Regions from separate parts of the Homo sapiens genome. Here all the other regions are linked to region 4. The links are contacts of gene promoters, found by promoter capture Hi-C in blood cells and fetal thymus (Javierre and others, 2016). All regions are on one chromosome and are shown on one strand. The core of a region is centred on a gene start or on the middle of the fragment in contact, and the rest is flanking DNA. Distances in the headings are between cores, read along the strand shown. Region 1 overlaps DPYSL2 (dihydropyrimidinase like 2). Region 2 overlaps DPYSL2 (dihydropyrimidinase like 2). Region 3 overlaps DPYSL2 (dihydropyrimidinase like 2). Region 4 holds the start of KCTD9 (potassium channel tetramerization domain containing 9).

Region 1 (2,880 bases), core at 224-2,723, 1.1 Mb after region 4:
AGACAGAATAAAATCCGAATCTGTTTCCATGGCCCACAGTCCTGTAGATGTGGTCCCTGCCTGCTGCTTTAACTTCGGTTGTACAAAGCAGATGTTACTGTGTAACAAATAGCCCCAAAATATAGTGGCAAAGACCAACAACACTCTTACTGTGCTCATGGATCCTGTGGATCAGGGATTTGAACACAGTAGAGCAGGGATATGTTGTCTCTGCTCCACGATGTCTAGGGCCGTATCTGGGAAAACTTGAATGGCTTTGGGTGACTTGAACAACCGGGGTGGAGTCCTCCAGAATCTTTCTCACTCATACGTCTGTCACCTTGGCACCATGGCAGGAAGGCTGGGCTTGGGGGGACTCTGCTGGAATTCCTATATTGGTCTCTACATGGCTTCAGCTTCTTTACAGCATGGTGGCGTTAGGGTAGCTGGATTTCCCACACCTGTGTCTGAACTCAGACCATGCTTTCTGTGACCTGTCCTTGGAAGGCATCTCTTCTGTCATACTCTACTTGTTAAAGCAGCCAGAAGCCCACCCGAATTCAAAGGGAGGGCATGTAGACCCCACCTTTCATTAGGAGGATGCCAAAGAATTTGTGGCACTGTTTTTAAAGGGCCACGCTCATGTCTATCACTCTCTCTTGCTCACAGTTCTCCAGTCACACTAGACTCCTTTCTGTTCCCAAAACATTCCACCTCATCCTAATCTCAGTCTTCCCATGTTTTTGTTTTCTCTTACATAAACTCTCTTCTCCCAGATGGCTTCCTCCTTCTCATCTTTGTCCAAAGACTAAGTCTTCCCTTTTAATTAACACATTGAGTCAGAAACTTTGCTGCAAAAATTGAATTGAAGCCCCAATATCTTTTTCCAGACATGAAGTCCTGAACTTAGCTCCCAGACACCACGTTCTGCTACTTCCTCCAGAGGCTAAGTCTAGAACTCTGCTGCCTGAGGCTAAGTCCAGAATTTTCCCTCCAGAGGCAAAGTCAGATTTTTGCTCTTGGGACTAAATCTCTACCTAAATGTCAGCTCCCCTTCCTAGACCTTCCTAGACCACTCTGTCTAAAGTGCCTTTCCACCTCTCTATCCTCTGCTTATTTCCTTGATGGCACTGACTGCAATCTGAAGTTATCCTTTGTATTTGTTTCTTTCCCCATTAATTAAATGGCTACCCCCTTGTAGAAGGTAACTTCCATGAGGGCAGAGGTGTTGTAGGTTTTTTTACTATCATATCCCTTGGCACATAGAAGGCACTTAATGTAACCTTGCTGGATGAGTGAATGAATGAATGAATGAATGAATGAAGTGTGGAAAGAGTCAGGAATAAAGCTTTGGAAGTTAGAAACGTTTAGTTAGTTGTTGAAACCATGACAGAGAAAGAGGCTTAGGAGACAACCTAAGGGATCATTGATATTTAAGACTGGGTAAGAGGAACTCAATGAATGTTTAGAAAGAAGAGTCATAAAAGCGTGAAAAGAGCCAGAAAAAAAGGCATCACAGAAGCGAGGGAGGGGAATTTGGAAGAAAAAAGGTAGAGGCAATAATGTTAAGTATCACAATGAGCTCAGTTAAAATAAAGATCACAAAGTGCGCATTAGCTTCCAATTAGCATGCTGTTTGCCCAAGCTTTTCTAATGGAGTCAGGCGAAGAGGCCAACTGTAGTGGGTTGAGAAGCAAATGGGAGTGGAAGTTGAGGAAGTGGAGGCCAGGAGTGTACGCTACCCATTCCTGAAGCTTAACCATGTAGGAACAGCAAGGCAGGGCAATCGTGGTGAGGAGCACAGGGCCAGGGAGATGGGAACGGCTGGAGGAGTTTTCCAAGCTCAAGGGACTGAGAGGTGGAGAGGAAGACTTTGAGATTTGGGAGCAGGCCGGGGTGGGAAACAGCATGGATTTGGGAATAATCCTTGAATGGGCTGACGTCTTCCTGTGAGACCTAGGGAAGGAGAAAAGAGGGGTGTGTGTGATGCTCTGCTACAAATCCTTATTCCATTTGTGATTCCTCATTCAGCACTGGGCTCTCCAGCCAGACTGAGCTCATGAGAACACGATTGAGGATGACCCAGGAAGCATGGCAAAGGTGGTGACAGCTGCTGAGAGGTGTGAGAGGGTGGCCAGATCAAGGACCAGTGGGAAGTCTTCAGGGGAAGCTCTTCTGGAGTGATCTGTCCCAGTTTCTTTTTAAAAGAATTTTTTTTTTAAAAAATTTCAATAGCTTTTGGGATACAAGTGGTTTTTGGTTACATAGATGAATTGTATAGTGGTGAAGTCTGAGATTTTAGTGCACCCATCACCCAAGGAGTGTACATTGTACCTAATGTGTAGTTTTTTTTTATGCCTAGCCCCATTCCCACCCTCCTTCTTCTGAGTCTCCAAAGTCCATTATATCACTCTGTATGCCTTTGTGTATTCATAGCTTAGCTCCCTCTTATAAGTGAGAACATACAGTGTTTAGTTTTCCACTCTTGTGTTACTTCACTTAGAATAATGGCTTCCAGCTCCACCCGAATTACTGCAAAAGATATTATATCATTCTTTATCATTCTGTTTTATGGCTGAGTAGTATTCCAAGGTGTATATGTACCACATTTTCTTCATCCACTCATTGGTCAGTGGGCACTTAGGCTGGTTCCATATTTGTGCAACTGTGACTTGTGCTGCAATAAACATAGGAGTGCAGGTGTCTTTTTGATATCATGACTTCTTTTTGTCCCAATCTTTAATGCAGTATGAGTGTTCTGTGGCTGCTCCCACAGAAGTGGTTAGGGAATAGTGAATTTTAGGGCTGCCCCAGGATTGGGAGGTTGCAGGGTAAGAGTAGCAGAATGATGCTGCTGGTGAGAGTAGTCCAGGAAATGGACCATGGGGGCCCAGCTGTGAA
Region 2 (2,870 bases), core at 290-2,789, 1.1 Mb after region 4:
CAATCCCAGACACAGCACCCACCTTGAGTTTGCCCTCAGGTACAGGGCTCCTATCCATCCTGGAAGAACAGAAAGATTTTGGTGTTCAAGTTTTATCCTGCCCTTCCATCCACCTGTTATTTAAAAGTACTTTTTCTGTAATATATAGGCAGAAAATGATCAGATATCATACGTCTCCTACTAAGTGGGAGGCTGCACCCAGCATGGAAGATGCTCACCAAGACGGTGGTATATTGGGTGTCTCTTCTCTCCTACAGAAGCCCTGGGTTGATGCCCTAGATCTCCCCTTGCATCCCAGAGGGGGATTTGGAGAGCAATCAAGAGGAGTAACTGATGCCATGCATTCATCAACTGAACTTAATCCTTCTTCTGGGAGGCCCGGGAGCCTTCTTCCATGCGGGGCCAGATTGAGCTGATTTCTGTCACGTAGGCTGCTCCGAGGTTGCCTTGCCCTTGCCTGGCACTCATCTTTTGCATTTCTCTGAATCGCTTTGGCGTGGGCTTTTATGAGGTTCATTAGGCTCAGCACCTCCCATGTCTGCTTGGGAAACACCACGGGCAGATGGCATTTTTCTTTTCTTTTCTTTTTTTTTGGATACAGAGTCTCCCTCCGTTGCCTAGGCTGGAATGCAGTGGCTTGATCTCAGCTCACTGCAAGCTCCGCCTCCCAGGTTCACGCCATTCTCCTGCCTCAGCCTCCCAAGTAGCTGGGACTACAGGCGCCCGCCACCACGCCCAACTAATATTTTGTATTTTTAGTAGAGATGGGGTTTCACTGTTTTAGCCAGGATGGTCTCGATCTCCTGACCTTGTGATCCACCCGCCTCGGCCTCCCAAAGTGCTGGGATTACAGGCAAGAGCCACCGCACCTGGCCTCTTTTTTTTTTTTTTTTTTTTGAGGGGCAGAGACAAGGAGGAAGATCAGACAATTTCTCAGAGTTGGAATTGTGTTCTGGGTATTGTTTTTCTCCTTTATGGAGATAATCCAGGGAGAAACATGAAGTGTAATGGAAAGAATTTGAGGCCCAACCTTCTTGATGATGCATCTTCATGGAGCTGGGAGACCTTCGTGCCAGGGTCGACTCTGCTGCTTATTAGCTCAGGCTCGGTGCCCCACGGCTTGGTCCTGGTTTTCTGAATCGTCAGATGCACCTGGATCAGCATGTCTTGCATAATAGGGTTGCTTTGAGGATCCAGGGAGGTGGTGGCTATGGCAGGGCTTGGACAAATTACATGTATGGGGGAGTAGCCCCTTCACCCCAGTTTTGCTCCTGACCGTTGAAGCTTTTTATATTGACCCGTGGCTACTGTGGTATTCGAAGGGCTAAATTTGTTTTGTGACTTTTGCCTTCAGCAGCCATCGCATTACATCATCTACCTTTTCTTGTGTTCTTCTGTCGTCGAGAATCAATTAAAATGGTCAGCATTGCTATGAAATGGTTTATTTTTTTGTGGATGTTTTAGAGCTCCTCCTCTCCATCTCCTGAATTTCTTTTCTTGCTAAGCCTATTCAGCTCTGTTTTTTAGAGAGTTCTTTTCCCTCCTGCTCTATGAAAACGTATTTTCCATGTTAAAAAAGGAAGATCCATGTTGCTGTACTTAATGCTTCATGTTTTAGAATGTTAGTGCCAGCAGAAAGCACCAGGAGACACCCGATGTGCCCCCACCTTGGTGAGCACCTTTCCCCCCAGGCACAGTCCCTGCTTACGGGAGATTTGAGGCATTTGATCATTTTTTCCCGTTAGCTTACAGCACAAAGTACTTTGAAATAAAGATTGGCTCGCAGGGCAGGTTGAAGCTTCAACACCAAAATCTCTCTGTTCCTTGTGGGTGGATGGGAGCCTGACACCTGATTACAAGCTCCAGGTGAAGAGCAGGTTTGAGACTTACACCTTGTTTATTGCAATCTTTCTTTCATTTTGCAGGCGGTGGGGGTGGGGGAATGAAAGCCCAGAAAGGGATGTGGCACTCGGGCAGGACGGGGGCTGCTTCTGTGCCTTTTCCCCACTGTGCGTATTCTTAGCTGCGCAAGTGTCGTGCATGTGCGTTTGGCTCACACCCAGCGGGAGTGCCCTTCTTGTGAAGGAAGCTCGTTCTCTACCGAAAAGCTCACTTTTCAGAGAAGAGCTGGAGAAGGCCTGTTGTCCATCTTAGTCCTGAAATATGAGTTTTCATTCCATGGCAAGTCCTTTTAATGAAAGATGGACTGGAGAAGCTGATGCATAGAAAAGAAATAGGTTCTTTTATGTAGAGGGGGAAAGTGTCCACTCTGCGGTATTTCCTGGGTCCTGTGGCTTGTAGGCATTTGAACTGTTTTGTCTTGGTTCTGAGAGAGTCAGATGATTCAGAAGCTGTGTTCTGCTGAACATTCCTGCCTTCTTGACAGAAATCCCCTATTTTTGTGGTCCCCCTGGCAGGTAAAGGTGGCCCCTACTGACTTGTAGGATTTCTGTCCATGATTGTGTCTGAAATGTCATTTTTTCTGGTTGTTTTCCCTCTTCATGTATTAGCTTGGCTCTTTCTTCTCCTCTTTGTCTTTAAGGTAATTTGCAAAGGTCACACTATTCTTGCTTCTTCTTAGAAATGTCATAAGGGATTTTCAAAGAAAGAAAATTTCTGAGTAAGAGTATCTCCCTCCCCTCCCCTCCCCTCCCTCCACTCCTCTCCCCTCTTTTCCCCTTCCCACTTCCTCCTTTCCTTTCTTTCTCTCGCTCTCTCTCTTTCTCATTTATGTTAGCTTACATGAGTATACTGACTCTAAAAATTTTTGATTCTACTACTGCACTCCAGCATGGGTAATAGAGCAAGACCCTGTCTCAAAAAAATAAATAAATAAAAATAAAAAATCTTAAAAAAATTTAGATATGATT
Region 3 (3,096 bases), core at 119-2,618, 1.1 Mb after region 4:
CTATTGCCAAAAGAATGTCATTCTTTGAAATGTGTTGCATATTAAAAGGGCAATGTATGGTTCAGCTTGCCAGGTTTAAGCCCATTCTGTATAATACAGGTGCATATTTACTGAACACTCGATGCCAGCATTCCTTCCATCAGCAGCATTTGCAATAACGATGAGTCATAATGTAGCATTTCTGTCACATTCTCAGACTTTATCTGCTGCTTGTCCTTTATTTTTTAGCATAAATATCACCGGTTAAAATATAAGTGCATCAGCAATCTGTAGTGCATTGCATCTTAGAATTTGCTATCTCAGATACTTATTCGTGGGAGTTTACCTTTTTCTTAACAGCCTAGTTAAAATGGCATCAATGGCGTATTTTTTGTAGTCTTTTTGCTATACTTGCTGTGATTTACCTCAAAGATAAATGCAAATATAAAGGACATATTGAATGGAAACCTTGCTATGGTTGAACCCAGTGTATTTGTGTGGTATATCCCGTGACAGCAGACTTTTTGGTCAATTGTGCTTGCTTGACACAGTCTTTCCAAGACATGGCTTTCCTATATGTAGGTGGTTTTTTTTGTTGTTGTTTGTTTGTTTTTAAATTGAGGTTTAGCCAAAAGCCATTTTAAAAAGTACTATCTTCTTTTTTTTTTTTTGAGTTGGAGTCTTGCTGTGTAACCCAGGCTGGGGTGCAGTGACGTGATCTCGGTTCACTACAACCTCCGCCTGCTGCTTCAAGCAATTCTCCTGCCTCAGCCTCCCGAGTAGCTGGGATTACAGGCGCCCACCACCATGCCCAGCCCATTTTTTGTATTTTTTATAGAGATGGGGTTTCACCATGTTGGCCAGGCTGGTCTCAAACTCCTGACCTCAGGTGATCCGCCCATCTTGGCCTCCCAAAGTGCTGGGATTACAGGCATGAGCCACCGTGCCCGGCCCTATCTTCTTTATATGAAATAATTTTCACTGCTTTTTTTTTTTCTTTGGAGTCCAAGGTCTAATTGAAAGAGATGGTTCGTTTATCTAGGATAAGCTGTCCCTGTGTGTTCTGACTCATCAGGTGATGAATAGGTTGCCACATACAGGCTTACCTTTGTCACTGAACCTTTCCAAAATGGGCTTATTTTGAACATCACTTTTGAACAGTGAAAATGTATCCTTAGCTCACATATCTTAGCACCTGTTTCTCATAGGTCAGTTACGCGTTGTGACCTTACTGCCTCTTTGTTTCAGAGCGATCGTCTTCTGATCAAAGGAGGTAAAATTGTTAATGATGACCAGTCGTTCTATGCAGACATATACATGGAAGATGGGTTGATCAAGTAAGTGTAACTCATGATATACAGATGTATTTGAACACTTTCCAGACTTCCCAAGTATTAGATACCATTCGCATCCAAAGTATCAAACTTCAGGAACATCAGAGAGTGACCAACTTAGTATCTGTTTTAAACTGGTTTTGATTGGTGGTAATTAGTGAATTTGAAAACTCAAATTTAGGGAATTCAAAGCAACAATTAATGTACACCCGTTGCATTAGGTATTATGTAATTTACTATTTTTAACTGAGGTGATATGATATCTTTCTGTTGCCAGCTCAAATACTTGGTTTGTGATATGTTGAATATATTAAAGTTTTGCCTAGAATGTCATTGTTTGGGTTGGATTGCCCAAAGGACGCAAACGTGAAAGACAGTCTCCTCTATTGAGACAGCACATCTGCTTTCTTCATCAAGAATCCAAGTTGGAGGGGCCAAAGAAAGATACCAAGTTAATTACTAAGTAATACAGACAAATTACTGCCTAAATCCTGAGGGAATTTTAGGTTTTATTCTAAGTGGCAACTAGTGCAAATAAGACTGCCCTTGTGTTTATTGTGTTAATGTTACAAAGGAGAAGCAACAGGGCAGTTCCTGAGTTTGGGTATTTTTGGACGCCAGAGGGTTAAGGAAGCTGAGTTCATCCCAGTATCTGCCTGCCCTTTCTACTGGGGTAGCTCCCGGGGCTCTGGAGAAATAGCACATCTGTTTGAAGACAAACACTGCAGCCAGTGACAGCTTTTAAATAAGCAGCATTCATCAAGGGATAGCTGTAAACCGGTCCAGAGGAGTGGAAAACTGGAGTGGCTGTGACTGTTGCCTGGGAGCTCACACCCAGATTTATGAACCTAAAATAGATTTTAACATTTCCACGTTTAATGTTTTCTCCATGTGTGTTTGCTGTGACAGTCTCAGCTCCAGGCTCTCAAATGCCATGACTTTGATGTTCCATTTTCCCCCAATTATAAGATGGCACGATCTGGTCTGGTAGAATGACACTGGCCCAGAAGTGTGCAGGCCTGTGTGCTGTTTTTACTCATCACTGATTTGTTCTAGAACTTTATCAACTTCTCCTAGATTAATATTCCTTTTAAAAAATTGGTAGAAAGATATAAAAATATTTTTTAAAAGTTGGAAATGAATCATGTCTCCCAACATAATGAATATTCATTTTTCTGCCTTTTAAAATTATATTTCAGCTGTTAGCTTTTTCATTATCTGAATAACTAAACACACGCTTCCAAAATTTTAAATCATTGCAATCATAGTGTTCACTTTTTTTTTTTTTTTGCTTTGATTTGTTCTACCTCACCCTTCCACCCCTATTTTCCTTCTGGTGAAAAGGATATGATAAAAATAAATGTTTGGAAAGTACGGCCAGGTCTGGAGAAAATTGCTATAGGATAATTAGCTCAATTGCAAGTGCTGTAAAGAAAGTTTAATGACAGTTCTTAGAAATATCTTGGGGCCTTGTTATCATTTGATCTTAGGGGGTTTCTTGGGAACAAAACGTCTTTGAGTGGGGCCTCTGGTGCCTTATTTAACTTTTGCTTTCTAGTATACTCTGCATTGCCTCTTGCTGGGGGGTAGGAGTATATAGTGTTTTATTATGAATCGTAACAATGATCTGAAAAGCCCACGGCACAGAGCGGAGGATAGTTTATAGGTTAGTGAAAGTAGCTGTCAGATCCCATTTGAGTCCACATTTCATTTACAACCCTTATCACCAACCCTGTTTATTTAGGCAAATAGGAGAAAATCTGATTGTGCCAGGAGGAGTGAA
Region 4 (2,951 bases), core at 140-2,639:
CTCAAGAACTCGAATTTATACGAATTCTGATTTTAAATGAGTATTAAATCTCTAAGACCAAAAGAACATAAAATTATAGCCAACAAACCACACTCTGGTTCGAATTTTCGGAGCATGTTTACTCTACACTGAATAATCGGAAAGCCATTTTTAATGCCACTGGACAATTTCACTATTTAAAAATTTACAGTGTTCCCCGAATGTGCAGGCAGCAGAGTATTTTGGCAACCAACACAGCGAGACCCATTTACCTTTACCTTAGACTCGTAAAGGCTGAGTTACTTCTAGGTATCATTTAGCAACGCAATAAATGTCTGCCTCGAACAGTGAAAATTTCCCAAAGGAGCAGAACAACTTTCATGGGTGGGGCAAAAGGCTGGGAAGGAAGAGAATTCGTTTTGGCTTGCTCCAGCGCTGGAAGAACACTGAGCACCACACTCTCCGCAAAGGCCTAACACAGCAAAGGCGACTGTCAAATCGATCCCTTTTGGGTCTGCTGTACCCGTCCTCTAGGGAATCAAAATAAGGCAAAATAATAAAAAGAGTACAGAGAAGTTTGGCGGCGGCGGGGCGTGGGGGCTTGAGGCATCTCAGAGAGGAGGGCAAAAATCAACAAGAAAATGCCCCCATTTTAAAAATCCTGTCTGCGACCTCGGATGGGAGATTTTGTTTATCCACGGGCAGTTTACTTCTGTCTCCCTGACCCATCTCCACAGGCTCTGGTGCTCGCCGCCACTTTCCGAGCAGATCATTACTCAGCACCGGAGCCGGCGCGCCTCCTCCCGCAGGCGGGAGCGGGGTCTCGGGGAGAGGCGGGAAGAGGCGCGACCGCCCGGGCGCCCAGGTGACCGCGGCCCTCCCCGCGCCCCCGTCCCCGCGCCCCCCGCACCAAGCATCCGGGAGACCCGGAGCCCCCGGGCCGAACCGCGCCGGCCCCCAGGCAGCTGAGGCACTGAAGGGCAGGCTCGGGCACGGGGGTCCTGAGGGTCGGGAGGAGGCCGCGGGGACCCTGTGCTGTCCCCGAGCGCCCCCAGCCCGCGCACGCCCACCTCCCAGCCCCTCTACCCAACTTCACCGCTGCCCCGCCAGCCGGTTCCGCACCGTCCGCCCTCGCCCCGACCCCCGGCCCGCCGCGCCCCCTCACGCCCCCGTTACCTTTCCGTTCTTGGGGCTGCCGTTCAGGAACAGGGTCACCCGCCTCATCGCGCTGCCCCCGCTGGGTCCTGAGTGAGCCGCCACCCTCCCACCTGGTCCTCCTCCCACCTTTTTCTCCTCCCGCCCTTCCCCTCCCTCCACCCACTCGGATTCGCCTCCCTTCGCCACCTTCCTGCCCTTGGGGACACACCACACGCACGCACTCTGTCCCACACCCAAGGTTCGGCCGGTCCTCCTTCCCACCCCGCCCCTAGGCTCCTCAGCCTGCCTGGGGCCCTTCCCCCACCTCTCCGAGACTGACACTCTGCCGTACCAACCAACCCGCGTCACCGGACAGAGTCCAGCCAATCAGCACCCAGTATCGGGCGGGCTCTGGCTAACCTAGCCGGGACGGAGGGAGGGAAGAGACGCTGAAGGCTAGTAGACGGGAAGGGGCATCAGCCAATCAGAGAGGCTCCTGGAGCCGGACGGCGGCTTCCAGCGTTACTGAGCAGGCGCACCCTCTAGTTTAGGTAGCGCTTATCTGCATACGAGGGCGGGGTCTGGGGAAAGGAGGTGGAGCGCTGAAAGGGACCCAAGCACCAGTCAGCCCCTCCTCCAGCGTTAGCCCCGCCCACAAGCCGGCCCAGCTAGGAAACGGCTGCGGTAGGGACGGACTGATTGGGTAAGAGCCAGCTCGTCGCTCTGTTAGGATTGGTTGAATGAGTCTTTTCGAAGTTTGCAGCATCCAATAGAAAGGTGGGAGGCGGAGTTAAAGCGCTAAGAGAAGCGTTACTCCGCGAGACTCTCCTGAAAAGTAGTCCCCGAGGTCACAAGGCAGTGGCAGGTGTCTGTAGTCCTCGGGTTGACTGCAGCTCGCGGTGGTCCCTCTCCGAGCCCAGGAAGCCACTCCAGTGCCGAGGGAGAGGCCTGGGAGCGCTCGGAGTGTGCGCGGACTGGAGAAGGGGGAGGTGGCGGAGTGATTCGTAGAGTAAATTCGGTACCGAGGGGCGGGGTCGGGGATTTGAATCGGTCGGCGGGCGGAGGAGGCGGGTGGAGGAGGCTGCCGGGCAGAGCGCAGGCCAGGATCAGCGCAGGCTGTGAGTCCAGGTCAGCCGTCGGGACCTCGGGCTCCGGGTTCGAAGAGCGGCTCCCGGCTGCGGGTGCTTTGCCAGGAGAGCCCTTCCGGACAGAGGAGCCGGGGTCTGGAAGGAGCGGCCGACGCGACGCTCGCCTGCCACGGGGCTCTGGGAGTAAGCCTGTCTGCCTGGCGGGCCTTCAGGTGCGGCGTGAGAGGTAGGATTGCATCCGCGCTGCCACGGGGCTGTTTCTCCGGGGCATTTCTAGGCACTTTGTTCGGCTTACCCTGCAGCACAGAATTAGTACTCCTGTCAGGAGCTGCTCTGGGTGACCAGGAGTGCATCCGGACCTGTTGAGAGAATTTCTGGAAATGGATAGAGCTGCGTCTTGAGAGGGGTACCCTTATGATTCAGGTTTTCGCTACGGTTGAAAAGCCATGGCTTATCCTTTGGGGTCTGCTTTGGTGCCTGAACAGCAGTTTTCTCCATTTCTTTCTGTTTAATTTGGCTTTAAAAGTACGCGCTTAGAGTAAAAGAATGGTTAGCACAGGGTGGGAAGTGTATTGGGGATGGATGGGAAGGAAGTGGAGATGGTTAATAGGTAGAAAAACAAAGAATGAATAAGATCTAGTATTTGCTAGCACAACAGGGTGGCGGTCCATAATTTAATTGTGCATTTAAACATAACGAAGTATAATTGGATTGTTTATAACAAAAAGGATAAATATTTGAGATAAT

What was found. Contacts are between HindIII fragments. The CHiCAGO score rates a contact against its expected background, and 5 or more counts as called.
Region 1: a fragment that was not itself captured here is called in contact with the fragment with the promoter of KCTD9 in region 4 in 6 of 17 cell types (naive CD8 T cells, naive B cells, naive CD4 T cells and 3 more); the score reaches 10.4 in naive CD8 T cells.
Region 2: a fragment that was not itself captured here is called in contact with the fragment with the promoter of KCTD9 in region 4 in 1 of 17 cell types (fetal thymus); the score reaches 5.2 in fetal thymus.
Region 3: a fragment that was not itself captured here is called in contact with the fragment with the promoter of KCTD9 in region 4 in 10 of 17 cell types (naive CD8 T cells, non-activated CD4 T cells, activated CD4 T cells and 7 more); the score reaches 22.8 in naive CD8 T cells.

What each region holds. Positions count from the first base shown.
Region 1 is chr8:26,562,575-26,565,454 of GRCh38, forward strand. The region is part of intron 1 of DPYSL2 (dihydropyrimidinase like 2); the gene reads left to right. Among named protein-coding and RNA genes, the nearest start is that of DPYSL2, 50 kb to the left of the region's middle. The HindIII fragment of the contact is 297 bases long and covers 1,326-1,622 here.
Region 2 is chr8:26,596,899-26,599,768 of GRCh38, forward strand. All of the region lies in intron 3 of DPYSL2 (dihydropyrimidinase like 2), which reads left to right. Among named protein-coding and RNA genes, the nearest start is that of DPYSL2, 84 kb to the left of the region's middle. The HindIII fragment of the contact is 514 bases long and covers 1,283-1,796 here.
Region 3 is chr8:26,580,742-26,583,837 of GRCh38, forward strand. DPYSL2 (dihydropyrimidinase like 2) reads left to right here. Exons shown (of 14, transcript NM_001197293.3): 2 at 1,228-1,316; 3 at 3,058-3,096. Among named protein-coding and RNA genes, the nearest start is that of DPYSL2, 68 kb to the left of the region's middle. The HindIII fragment of the contact is 3,760 bases long and covers 1-3,096 here.
Region 4 is chr8:25,457,044-25,459,994 of GRCh38, forward strand. KCTD9 (potassium channel tetramerization domain containing 9) reads right to left here and starts at 1,390. Exons shown (of 12, transcript NM_017634.4): 1 at 1,156-1,390. The coding sequence starts at 1,203. CDCA2 (cell division cycle associated 2) reads left to right here and starts at 2,190. Exons shown (of 15, transcript NM_152562.4): 1 at 2,190-2,430. RefSeq lists enhancers at 439-488, 1,859-2,088 and silencers at 1,099-1,148, 1,509-1,718. The HindIII fragment of the contact is 4,823 bases long and covers 1-2,951 here.